2 separate regions of the Homo sapiens genome follow, and region 2 is linked to region 1. Evidence: promoter capture Hi-C in 16 types of primary human blood cells and fetal thymus (Javierre and others, 2016). All regions are on one chromosome and are shown on one strand. The core of a region is centred on a gene start or on the middle of the fragment in contact, and the rest is flanking DNA. Distances in the headings are between cores, read along the strand shown.

Region 1 (6,384 bases), core at 2,754-5,253:
TTTGCTTAGTTGAATCTTTAGCAAATCTCTTTTATTTCTTGGGATTTTGAAGAAGTAATTTTTAAAGGAGGACTAGAAACTAAGTGATTGGGAATTGGCCTTTTTAGAATTAAAATTTCCCATTACAAGAAAAAAAAATCCTGTGTTCTTTTTTTTTTCCAGAATGGAGTAGGTCAGTGAGCAATGTGATTAATAAATATTTCAATGTCTGTGACTTTTGATTTATTTTGGAGACAGGGTCTTGCTCTGTTACCCAGGCTGGAGTGCAGTGGTGCTATCTAGGCTTACTGCAACCTCACCTGTCACTTTTTAATTGCAAGAAAGCTGAAAGGTTTTTTTCTATTATATCAGTTATAATGATAAATACTGTATATACTAACTATGAGTAAAATACTATATTGCCTAACTTGTATTATTAAGCAATTCTGCTAACCTGTGACCTTACATTTTCATCTGAAAAGCAGGGGCTGGACACCAATTGCCCTATGAAGCTATTGCTAGTCCTAACATTCTTTGTTTTGTTTGCTTTTTTGGCACACTTAAGTGTGTACTATGAAGTTTATGATGCTTTAATGAAATTTTCTGTCTCTACCATTGTAATGAGAAAGGAATAAAATACTTTATTTTGCAAATCTACTTATGGAATATAGTTCTGTACCTGATTGTTTTCATAATCCCTGTGTTGATGTGTAATGCCACAGACATGCTCTTGATAGTAACAGGAAAGAAAATCAGACACAGCTAAACATAAAGGTCAGTTGGCTGGCAGGTGCTTAGCAGGTGTAAATAGAGGCCCATTCATGCTGCTCCACTTGCTCCTGAAAAGCATAATGTAAATACAGTATACTAATTAGGAGGCAAAGAACCATCTAACATGGTTCTTTTTTTTTTTTTTTTTTTTTTTTGAGATAAAGTCTTGCTCTGTCACCAGGCTGGAGTGCAGTGGCGCAATCTTGACTCACTGCAACCTCCGCCTCCCAGGTTCAAGCAATTCCCCTGCCTCAGCCTCCTGAGTAGCTGGGACTACAGGTGTGCGCCACCACGCCCAGCTAATTTTTTGTATTTTAGTACAGACGGGGTTTCACCATGTTGGCCAGGATGGTCTAGATCTCCTGACCTCGTGATCTGCCCACCTCGGCCTCCCAAAGTGCTGGGATTACAGGCATGAGCCACCGCGCCCAGCCCTAACATCAAATTTTAAAAGAGTTGGCCACAGTTTAATGACATCCCTGCACACCAGCCTCCACCCATACTGCCCTTCATAAGCCCCTTAAAGGAGATCCCATAGTTCTAAACCGGGTCCACAAACACAGATATCCTCATTCTCTCCTTTTCTTCTCTTTGGCAGTTTGACAAAATCTTTAGGGGGAATTGGAGGAAACATTAATTTCCTAAATCAACTTCATTCAAAGCTTTGGCTTCAAGTTCTACCCGTTAAGGCCTCAGGAAGTTCATTGTCGACATTGAACTCAGTCACTAAAATGACCTCAAGGCTAAGGGATAGACCACAGCTCCACTTCACAAGTAAGCTTGCAACACCTGATTTAGGAAAGTTTGCTGTGCAGACAGTTGTAGCTCATCCATTTTACAGACCGATCTCGATTTGTTTCCTAGGGTCTAAAATTATTTAAATCAAAATCTCTCAGAAATTTCTGGACATTTAATAAATTCATGCTGGAGGAGAACTGGCAGAGATATGTTAAATGCACTTGACCACAAGAACCATTTATTTCATCCAATATTTACCAGCTATTCATTGTACACTTACTACAGATTTTGGCACTGGAGATATTATAAGAAAGCTCTAACCCTGACTTATGGAACTTATCCCAAAAAATAGGAAACAAGGCTCAGAACCATTCAAATGAAGCTTCAGTTAACTCAAATAAAAATTAGTTTTATAAATTTAATGTGAAAGTCTTCGAGTATATTAAGAATGGCTTGATTAACCCCAGGGATGGAAATTTTACTGATTGAAAGAAAGTTTCAATAAAATACCGATCTTTGAATCTAATCTGACACCTGAAACTAGGAAATCAAACACTAGCCATATTTTTTCTTCTATTCTTTATAATAATTTTTCTCATGAGAAAAAGGTATCTTTCTTCCAAGCCTGAAAATAAATGGAGAATTTTTAATATCTATTGATGTGGAGAAAAATAAATAGACTATCTGCTTTCACAAATAAGTGCTGGCATTGAGCCACAGAACATGTCTGTCATATTGCTCTTTCACACCATACATTAACAGGAATAATAATTTCTCCTCATTGAGTTTCCTATTTACTATCCCCTTAATTATACCTCCTTTAATTACTGTCATAGAGTGTCTGAATTTTATAATCCAAGATACTAAGATGTTTATTTGATATACCACCAGACTCAATGTCTTGTATTCTATGCCAAAAATTTGAAAATGTTTGGGAAGAGGAAATTCCGTGGTTTGGTGAACCCAGAAAGTCTTCAGTACATCTCAGTTATAGAACTGTATTAAATACATTTAAACTCTATAATTCCATAAGACCCATTTTAGGTTTATACACTAAGCATCTAATTCCTCACTATCCTCTCATACAAACCCTGTGTAATACAAGTTCTACTCCCATAATTCTATGAACAAAACAACAATTGATACATAGATTTGATTTTTAAAATACATTTTCTTTACCTTATTCTAAATGTAACATAGGGTCAACATAGAAAAAGAAAACTGAAAAGCACAAGGAAAGTGAAATATCTATAATCTTAACCATTGTTAATTTTGTTGTGTTCCAAATTAGTGTATGTATATATATATATATATATATAGCATTTTTGTTTTAATAAAAGGACTGCCAAAATGCACATGCCAATTTGGACTCTGCTTTTTCCACTTACAATGATATCATAGTTTCTCACATTTGGTATTCTTTTGCAATACTTGCTGCATAGAATTCCATCACACAAAGGTAACTGCCTCCTTATTACTTTTGCTAGACACTTAGGGTTTACATTTTTTACAAAAATTATAAATCTTTGATCACAGCTCTGATGATTTCTCTGGGAACTGAGAGCCTAACACAAGTCATTTCCACTTTAAGACTTTTAACATTCTGAAAAGTTATGTTACAAACAGAGTGCTGGTCCCCCTGCAACATGTTCACTCACATTGGCTGACGTTTTAATTCTTTGCCAATCTGAGGGGAAGAGATGTCAACTTTTTTTGTTTGCTCTTTTAATGCCAGTCATGTTCCCTTTTTTTTTCCCCCTTTTACCAGTCATACTGGCTTACTCAGAACCCTACAAATCAATCCTGCTCATTCTTAATTTTCCAACATTGTTCCTGAGATTGTTTCACCAGAAAAGTTCTCCCCCTTATCCACTTCGCCTAACAATTTCTACCCATCCCAATCCTCCTGCATTTATTGCTTCCAGGAATTTGGCACTTAGGACACCCTTGTCCTTACATTGTTCATGCATGTATATTTCGTCTTCAATAAAACATTTAGTTGCTCAAGGGCAAGGGTCCCATAGAGTCTCAATATGCTAACGGCCTGGTGTTGCTTAATAATTTAGATTCTGACGGGTCCTCTCCAGGGAGGGGAGCAAAGGGCAAATTATCTTAGGGGCTGGGAGTGCAGAAGCCAAACCTTTGAGACTGTGAAAAGAAGACGGCGCCGAGACGATTCAGTAGCAGGCATTCAAGCAAGAAAAACTCAAATATTGTTCCCAATAATGCCTGACTAATGCCAAATACCAAGTAAGGGCCCAGGCAGTCCTGACAGCCTGCAGTGCCCCAGGATAAAACTAACCCTGAGGGGTGCTAGCCCACGATAACCCCCTGCCAGGGCTCTGGACACGCCCTGTCTCCTCGAAGGCCAACGGGCTGCCCCTGCGCGCCGAGGCCCCGCCCCGCGGCCCGCCGATTGGCCCCAGCCGCCCCGGCGCTAAGACTCAATTTCACACTACGCGCCCAGGCCACGCCCACCTGTCATGCGGCCCTGGAAACTGTGAGTTTGGGGATTGTTGTGTCCACTAACCGGACTCAGAAGGGACTTCCCTGCTCGGCTGGCTTTCGGTTTCTCTGCTCACCTCCGGATAAATCACGGGGTCTCCCGCGCCGCTCATGGCGCCTCCCGTCCGTCTCGAGCGTCCCTTTCCTTCCCGGCGCTTTCCTGGGTTGCTTCTGGCGGCCCTGGTGTTGCTGCTGTCCTCCTTCTCCGGTAGGACCCCGGGGTGGATTCGCGCGTCCGCGGCGAGGCTAGAGCTCTGCTCAGTCAGTCGGGCAGGAGGCGCGGGGCGAAGCTCACTGCACGTCGTGCCTGCTTGGGATAGAGAGCGAGGCCAGGGTTCTCCGAGGGGTGCCGTGCTCAGATCCCGGGGGTATGTGGCGGGGGATGCGGGAACCACGCAGAAGCTTGTTTGGTGGCATCGTGTGCGCGGCCGACATTTACGCAGGATCTGGCTGCGTTCCCAAAAGAAGCGTGAATCGTGTTTTCGGGATTGAGCCCAGTCAGCAAGGGGAGGGCTTACTGGGCGCCCCAGGTGAGGGCTTGCTCTGGAGTGCACAGGTGCGTGGGATTGTTGCTAGAGCCCGTGCTGTGCCCGTGGTGAGAGTTTGCCCTGTGTTCCCTTGGTGCCTTGGTGAGTAGGGTGTTCATTAGGGCTTGGACAGTACCCGCGGTAAGGGTTGCAGTGCGTCTGCTGTGCCCCATGGGCTGGGCTGGCCTGGGCTGGGCTGGGCGAGCAGGGGCCTGGCCAGGTGTTGCTGGGAGCGTGCTGTGCGCAAGTGGCCTGTGTGCGGAGTTCACTGTGGGCAAGACAGCTCACTGTTTGCTTTGAGTGGAGCGAGCGCGGACTCTGCGGCTAGGGAGGGCATGTTGAGTGAGAGCAGGCTCTCAGTGCCTGGGGTTAGAGAGGTGGTAAGGGCGCACCATGCTTTTAGTGCCTTCTGTGAACAGTGTCCGTGTTGCCTGAGATCGTATTGGTCTTGAATTTTAAGTGGCTGCTTTTTTGGGGGGTGGGTGGGCCATCGAGTCATCTTCCTGTTCCCAACCAATATAGACAGTATCTGATTCCATTGCCTAGTGGCTTTTTGACATTGTTTTCCTTCTTTTCATTAGTTTGAGTCATATTTGAGAGATGTGAAGCAACCTAAAAAACACTGGTAGCCAAACCTAGTGAGAAATTAGTATCCTAACAAAGGAAGGCAGATAATGTTAATCTTGTTTTCCCCTACAGCTCATAAACTGAAGCTTAAGGCCTATCCCACTGTTTTGTATTTCATTGAATGGAATCAATATTTTTAAAAATGCATGCTAGGCCAGGCCCAGTTGCTCACACCTGTGATCCCAGCACTTTGGGAGGCCCAAGTTGGGTGATTGCTTAAGCCCAGGAGTTCAAGATCAGCCTGGACAACATGTCAAAACCCCATGTCTACAAAAAATAAAAAAATTAGATGGGCATGGTGGTGTATGCCCGTGGTCCCAACTACTCCAGAGGCTGAGGTGGGAGGATCGCTTGAGCCCAGGAGGAGAAGACTGCAGTGAGCTGTGATCATGCCACTGCACTCCAGCCTGGATGACAGTGTGAGACCCTGTCTCAAAAAAAAAAAAAAAAAAAAAAAAAGCCAAAAAATACATGCTTAAATACAGGCTTATTGTGCAAAATGAACAAAATAAAAGGACAACTGTTTTTAATATTTTGTTATATTTCCTTCTGACTTTATTGTGTTTCATGTGTATCTATGTCCAAATTATATTTAGGATCTTATTCCATGTACAGATTGTACGTTGCATTTCTTCTCTTAGGAACATTCATTCAACAAATATGGGTCTTGTATGTCTGGTGCTGTTACACTAGTAGGTAATAACAGACAATTCCTATTTTCTTTATCCTTTTTTTACTATTTGTTTACACACACGTACATGCAGGAAGATAAGCAGGGACTTTTTTTGCTCATTGTTAAGTGCTTAATGCCGGGAACACAGTAGGCAATCAACAGATGTTTGCTAAAATGTATTGGGAGTGGCAGACATTAACCAAAACATAATAGTAACAAATATATTAACCAGGGAAGTGTTCTGGAGGAAAGGAGTATAATTTTCTGACAGCATTTAACAAATGACTGGGGGGAGGGAAGGCTTTGCTTCTCATCAAACAGACAAAACTCTGCCACTTTGGGGCATCTGTGCTTTCTGTTCCCTCAGTCCTGGAACGTTCTCCCCATGACCTGCTGCATAAATGGGCTGTTTCTTCTGCAAGCTCAGCTGGAATGTTACCGCTTCAGAGACCTTCTTGGAACCCCCCAACTCAGGTTGAACACATACAACCCAGTTCAAGTACCTCTTGTAATCACCCTTTTAAAGTGATCTTTTCTGTTCTCTGTCTCTCCCCATCAGAATGC
Region 2 (6,384 bases), core at 2,484-4,983, 270 kb after region 1:
CATTTTATCATGCTCAGCAATTCAGCCTCCTGCCTACCTTTGCTCATCCAGGATTGTCTGGGGTTCTAGGCTTTGTCACTCAAAGACCTCTTAAGACATTTTCTTAAATCAGCTGCCTAGGGATGCCACTCCTCTCTAAGAAGTATCAGTTTGATTTCATTTTTCCAAATAAAGAAGAAGCCTACTTCCCAATTAAGCCCAAAGGCCTTTTCCGTTGCATCTGAAGGGAAGTAACTCATTCCGACGGACTCCAAGAGCACAGGTACTAAGAAGTACACCTTTATATGCATCCCTATTTGTTTGTCTCTCCATCTTTCCAACATGCACGCATCTTTCTCCTTAGCACAACGTCCAGCTCTGGGACTAAAAGTCATAGATAATATGTTTTCATTTATTAGCTAAGGAGGGAAGAGAATGTTCTCATTAGAGAAGTCCAAGCCCACAAAAATATGGAATTCTCACAGCCCTGGCGACTGTGAGAATTTTCTTCTGGAGGGTGGTGTTGTGTTCTTTTTCCATACCTTCTTATTTTTAATTCTCCACACTGCAAGCCATTTAGTTAGATCAACCAAAGTCAATGAGAGAGGGAGGCCCAAGTACCTGAGAGTGGAGTTGGGTAACCATCCAGCCCTGAAAGTAAACCCAGGCCCTCCAGCTCAGGGTCTAAAGGAAATCAGGCAATGAGACCAACGGTAAGAAGTGGAATTTGTTCCTCATTTTCATTTGTTTTCGTAGGACTCTGCAGCTGAGTTTATCTGCTGCAGTTTGGCACTTCTTGCCCTAAGCTTTTTGAGACAAAGATTGCGAAGGAAGGAGATGAGGACAAGGGAATGAGGAGGCCCAGGAGGTGGAGCCAAAGGGATAAGAAAAAGAGGCCCCAGGCCCCTGTGTGTTTTATCAGCCGAACAGAAATGCTGCTGAAGACATGCATCTGCAAAGGTGGTGCCAACTGGGTTGGGTCTACAAGTGCGGAGCACTGGGGACCACTGAATTAGTCAGAGGTCCCCAAGCCTGCTCCTCCTCTGTCGCCATATGGCAGAGATTCAAAGGGTGGAGTCCTCTCCCCTCTGGAAAATAGCTGATAAAATTCTTTTCCCTTTTATTTTTCCCCTCTTACATGTAGCCCTGGACAGGATATGGGTGTGGGGTCAGCAGGCACGAAGGACCCAAAGGAAGAAGAGGAATGTGACGGGGAGGGCCTGGGGGTGTTGTTAGAGTGAGGATAGGGACAGGCCTTGGAAAGCTTGGAGGAAATAGATACCCTGAGCCTGACAAAGGGGTTCCCTAATTACCTGAAAGGCTTCCTGCTCCAGCCAGCACTCTGGCAGTGCTGCCTGGTGGCCCTTGAGCCCCTTACCCTGACTCTGCTCTGTGATCTCCCCCACTTCCAACAAAGACAGCCCACTTCTGGTTAGTTGCAGTGCCTATGCACATGCCACCTTCTCAAAGGGACAGAAAAAAAGAACTTCCCAAAACAAGCTCTTTGTTGGGGTAAATGATGAGAAAACAAACCACAGAAATCCCCTCTACCCTAAATTTTACAATAATAATAGCATTTCTGCAATGGCCCTATGGTAGCATTTCAAGGTACACTCAGTTATCTCATTTATCCCACAATGTATCCCAGGACTGAAAATGACTCCTAGTATTAACAAAACAAAACAAATCCAAGCAAAAACCCTAGAAAGCTCTTGGGAAGGGCATAAAACTACAATTGGCTCAAGTAGTCTGGCAAGGCTGGGAATGGGGCCTTGTGCCTCATCCCTCCCCACCAAAAGCTGGGATATTCTCAGCATATCAGTCCAAAGTTTTGCCAAGGTTGTGTTGCTCCCCCAACCCCAACCTCGGCAGGCCAAGGCGAGACTGGCACTTACCAGCTGAGGAAATAAGAAAAGGGTGGACCTCATTCGGCTGAGGACCAGGTCATCACAAGCTGTGTAGCCAAAGGAGAATGGAGCATCTGATTGGAATCTGCACCACTGGCCAACTCACCCCTGTTTTTTTGTTTTTTGTTTTTTGTTTGTTTGTTTGTTTTGAGAAGGAGTCTCGCTCTGTCTCCCAGGCTGGAGTGCAGTGCCAGGATCTTGGCTCGCTGCAACCTCCGCCTCCTGGGTTCAAGGGATTCTCCTGCCTCAGCCTCCCGAGTAGCTGGGACTATAGGGGTGTGCCACCATGCCCAGCTAATTTTTGTAATTTTAGTAGAGATGGGGTTTCACCATGTTGGCCAGGATGGTCTCGATCTCTTGACCTCATGATCTGCCTGCCTCGGCCTCCCAAAGTGCTGGGATTGCAAGCGTGAGCCACTGCGCCCGGCCGACTCACTCCTGTTATGAGGGCCTAGTCTAGCACCCACTCTAGAATTTTGAAACCTCATTGATAGCTTTTCCTTGCCCCAAAGCACACATCCAGGACTGCCAAACAGGGCAACCCAAAACTTCTCTCAGAGCTTCCTCCAGCCCAGGGGCAGCTGTCCCCAGCTGGGCGGACCCAAAGATGGACAACAGAGGAGACTGGGAACAAAGAGGTCTAGTCCAGGTCACTCTGCAGGGCCACAGTGGGTGGCCCTTAGGATGTAGTGAGAGTACAGAATTGGGAGCCCTAGAGTGCTGTAAGCAAAAGGGAGAGCAATGTACAAAGTTTCAAAAGTTTCAAACCTTCCAAGTGCAAAGAGATGAGGTGGAGAATGTCATTCCCCAAGGAAAGTAATCGAGTATAAATATTTACCGGGTGCCTATTTTTTTTTTAACCGAAGTGAGAGCAAGACCTTAAGAGTAAGGATATGTGTAGGTGAGTGGGGGCAGTGTTCTAACCCATCCACTAGCTTTAGAACTTGGAGCAGGGGCAGAGGAAGAAAACTCCAAAAGGTGACAAGTTTTGAAATTTGTGCAGGGGTGACGGTTTTTGGTAAGGCGAGCGAGGCTGGGCGCAGAGCAAATTCTGTCTACTTCTACCTCCTCCGCGGTGGGGTTGCTGAAGTGGGAATTCAAACTCAGCTTCCCAATCTTAAATGCAAGGTTTTTGTTTGGTTGGTTGTTTGGTTTTGTTTTTCCTTTTCACGGACTGTTCATTCCGAACACCCCTGGCCTGGGACCTGGAGCCTCATCCCTGATTCGCTTCCCTCGAATTCCTTAATGTCCACTTCTGGCTCTCCCAGTCCCTGTGCAAGGTGGGCACACCGGCCCCTTCCCAGCAATCCGCTCCGTGTCTATACTTTCTGAATCAACCAAGAGCCACAAAACTTTTCCTGCTTCTCTCCTCCCCAGTCTCCCGGTTCTGGCTGCAACTTCGCACTCCGCGCCTCTGGCAACCAGAAGAGACCCTGGCATCTCCAAAGCGCTTTATCTCAGTCCATTGGAACCAGTCGTGCTGACCGATTCACACCTCGGCTAACGCACACTCGCGGGGGTGATGGCCTTCCCTTCCCCTCCCACCCCCGTCAGCTCCCAGGTGAGGCGCTGGCCCCGGGGGGAAGCAGCTGTGGGCGGCAGTGCGTGGGTTGGGCAGGGGTCCCTTCCCTCCGTGAGACTCTGCTCTGCTGTTCAGCCTCCCAGAAAGCCTCCACCCTCCCCGCGGCGAAGCCAAGCGGCCGCGGCGCGCGGGCGGTACTCACGCAGCAAACTCAGCAAGCAAAGCGCGGTCCAGCCCCGCGGCATCCTGGGCCCTGCGCGCGCGCCCCTGCGGACCAGCATCCTTCCCGCGCGGCTCCTAGAGAGACGCACCGAGTGGAAGACACTACTCGGCTTGGCCAGGACGCGCTCTTCCCGCCCCCTCCGCCCGGGAGAGGGGTGGGGGATTCTTGCTTTTTTCCTCTCTTCTCCCCTCCCTTTTTAGTCTTGGCAAGGCAGCGCCTCTCCTTGGCTGCTACTAACTTGAGCTCCCCTGGTTGGTCCCAAAGGCGGAGGGCGTTAGGAGGGAGGCTGGGTTGCCGCCGTCGAGGCCAAAAAAGGTGGAGGTTTGTTCGGGCTCCAGATGCCTCGTTCAGCTTTCTGGAGAGGCCCCATCCCACTTCTTCAAGCTCCACTTCCACTTAACTTTTAACCCCTTTGTGGCAGCCTTGCCGGTGGCCAGGGCAGGGGCAAGTTTCCTCCGATTTTTTCCCCACTTTTCTTTCCTTGTGATTTTCCTTTATTTTTAAGTTGTAAGCCAGTAACAATCTTGCAAAAGGAATCTACTGTAAGGACCTCAGTTTAGAAGTGTGAGCATTTCGTTAATCAGGTAAAACTTAACCACAATGTGGCACATTTAGTGATAGCCTCACCAGATCCTGTGCTGTGTGTGAGTGAAGCGTCAGGAGTGAGCAGGTATACGTGACTATAAGTATTCATTTTGGCTGTCCAAACCATTCTTGGAGACTTTTTCTTTCTTTTCTTTTCTTTTTTTTTTCCTGCAAGACCTTTTTGTGTTATGTTAACTTTTTGCTAACTTGTGTTAACTTTTCCTGTGACCTTCCATATTTCCCCATTTAGTTCCCCATCACCATCATCCTAAAGAAAAAGGACTTCCCTGGATGCCTTCTCACCAGTTATCCCCTCTCCAGCCCTGGGTCTAAGCCACTAGGGATTTCACCTTGCTCTCCCATCAGAAAAAGGACTTTCTGTGACTCCATCCTCCACCACTTGATAGATCCTTGAGCTTCCTGTTCCTCACCAGTTCCTCTGGGTGTTGGTTGTACTGAATAGAAGAAACTCTGAGCCGGGTAGGCAGCCTAGTCTTGGGGACGTAGAGACGGGAGAAAGGAGAAGCCAGCCTGGGCAGATGATGGCACCAGGGGAGGATCAGATAAGGTATAACCTGGGAGAGGCTGCTCTGATATCCAGAGCAGAATCATGAAATTATAAATACTCAGTTCAGGCTCTTCCATGATGTCTGTACCACATAGCCTAAAGGGAAAAAAGAGAAGCCAGACCAGCACTCTGTGGTCCTTTCTGATTTCTCCGCAGACACTCTAGCATTATAAAAGTAGCTTTACCTTTATAGTCCATCTCAAACCTACTATGCGTTGGGGTTGCACAGGAGAAGGATCCAGGTCTAAAAACAAACCCAAAATCTCCTTATTCTGGTCTTGTTGCCTAGCATTCCTTTAAACAGGGAACAAAGTCTTTCATCACACAATAAGAGCAAAGGCCTGATATGCTAATTTGATTGAATACAACGGAATGGTATGAATCTGTTTCAAAGTACAAATGATGATTCAGAACTGATCACATAGTGATGGCAAGGGCCTGGGGACAGAAGGAGTGGCAAACATGCATTTTAAAATCAGTCATTGGTCCTTGGGACTCCCAATTAACAGGGAAAAGGAGTTAGTTCCAACACTGCCAGGCCCCCCACTCCCCTCAACTTCCTCAGCTCCAGGGACCGCTCGGTCTGCTTCAGGCATCCAGTGTGCAGTTGAGAACAAATGTGGGGTTGTAATCCCTGCTAGATATGAAAGCTAATTTGGTCCACTTTAACTTCCATTTCCAGATTTTTTTTTTCTGGTTACTTTAAATACCATTTGTCTCCCATAGCTGGACCACGGGAAACAGGGGAAATAACTTGTCTTTCTTTAGTACCTGAACTTCTTAACTAGCTTTGGGAGCAAAGAGAGAGAGAATGATTCTGTGGAGCAGAGTTTTCTCAAAGCATGGTCTACACAGAATCAAGGGTGAGGGCCAGAATCTGTACTTTGAGTAAGTATTCTCCATGACTCATGCACACTGAGGTTCAAGAAGCCCTGGTATAGAAAGAACACTTGCTGGGTACAAGGAGCAAGGGCGAAGTGGATGTCAGGCTTCAGGGAGGAAAAATAGAAGTAGGGGATATGGGAGGCTGGCAAATCCCTTCCTCTGAGAGACCAGAGCTGTTTCTTCTCTGGCTTGCAAAGGTTATGGATAGCCCCAGAACTACAAAGCTAGACAGTGATTGGCCACTCTTCATATTTTCCAGGGTCACTGAGACTCATCACCCCAAGCACACACACCCTTGCCCAAGCCACCCCCAAACACACGTTCTGGCCACTGGACACAAGGGTACCCAGGGACCCCAGCCTTACATTTCCTCACAGGCCAGGTAGAGTTGAGCTATGTAGTCTCTTCAAAGTTCTAGCCTTTCTGGGCTGCTCCTCAATTCTCTGCTCTCCTGCTTCATAAGCTGTTGCTAGAAGATGTTAGCTACACCGCACAAAATGGAGGATACAACAGAAATACACTGAGTCAGAGGCTGTCTCAGGCCCTTTACAGACCCTTGGAGGTCACAACCACTTTTACTATTAAACATCCCTTACCTCACCCCTCCCCAAAATACACACGCATCATGTCAATCAACCTAAAAGAGGACCTCATCCTATGTCAAATATGTCTGATGTTAAAAAAGTAAGGAAAATGGTTGTTATAATTCTGAATT

Evidence for each region. Contacts are between HindIII fragments. The CHiCAGO score rates a contact against its expected background, and 5 or more counts as called.
Region 2: a contact is called between the fragment with the promoter of CD34 here and the fragment with the promoter of CR1L in region 1, in 13 of 17 cell types (neutrophils, non-activated CD4 T cells, total CD4 T cells and 10 more). The highest score is 23.2, in neutrophils.

The regions. Positions count from the first base shown.
Region 1 is chr1:207,641,130-207,647,513 of GRCh38, forward strand. CR1L (complement C3b/C4b receptor 1 like) reads left to right here and starts at 4,004. Exons shown (of 12, transcript NM_175710.2): 1 at 4,004-4,201. The coding sequence starts at 4,105. It overlaps CR1 (complement C3b/C4b receptor 1 (Knops blood group)), which reads left to right. Exons shown (of 47, transcript NM_000651.6): 47 at 1-636. It also overlaps the pseudogene CD46P1. RefSeq lists a silencer at 3,804-3,973 and an enhancer at 4,034-4,113. The HindIII fragment of the contact is 2,525 bases long and covers 1,869-4,393 here.
Region 2 is chr1:207,907,392-207,913,775 of GRCh38, forward strand. CD34 (CD34 molecule) reads right to left here and starts at 3,734. Exons shown (of 8, transcript NM_001025109.2): 1 at 3,611-3,734. The coding sequence starts at 3,689. It overlaps LOC107985253 (a long non-coding RNA gene), which reads left to right and starts at 2,977. Exons shown (of 4, transcript XR_001738424.2): 1 at 2,977-3,166; 2 at 3,264-3,447. The HindIII fragment of the contact is 7,449 bases long and covers 1,242-6,384 here.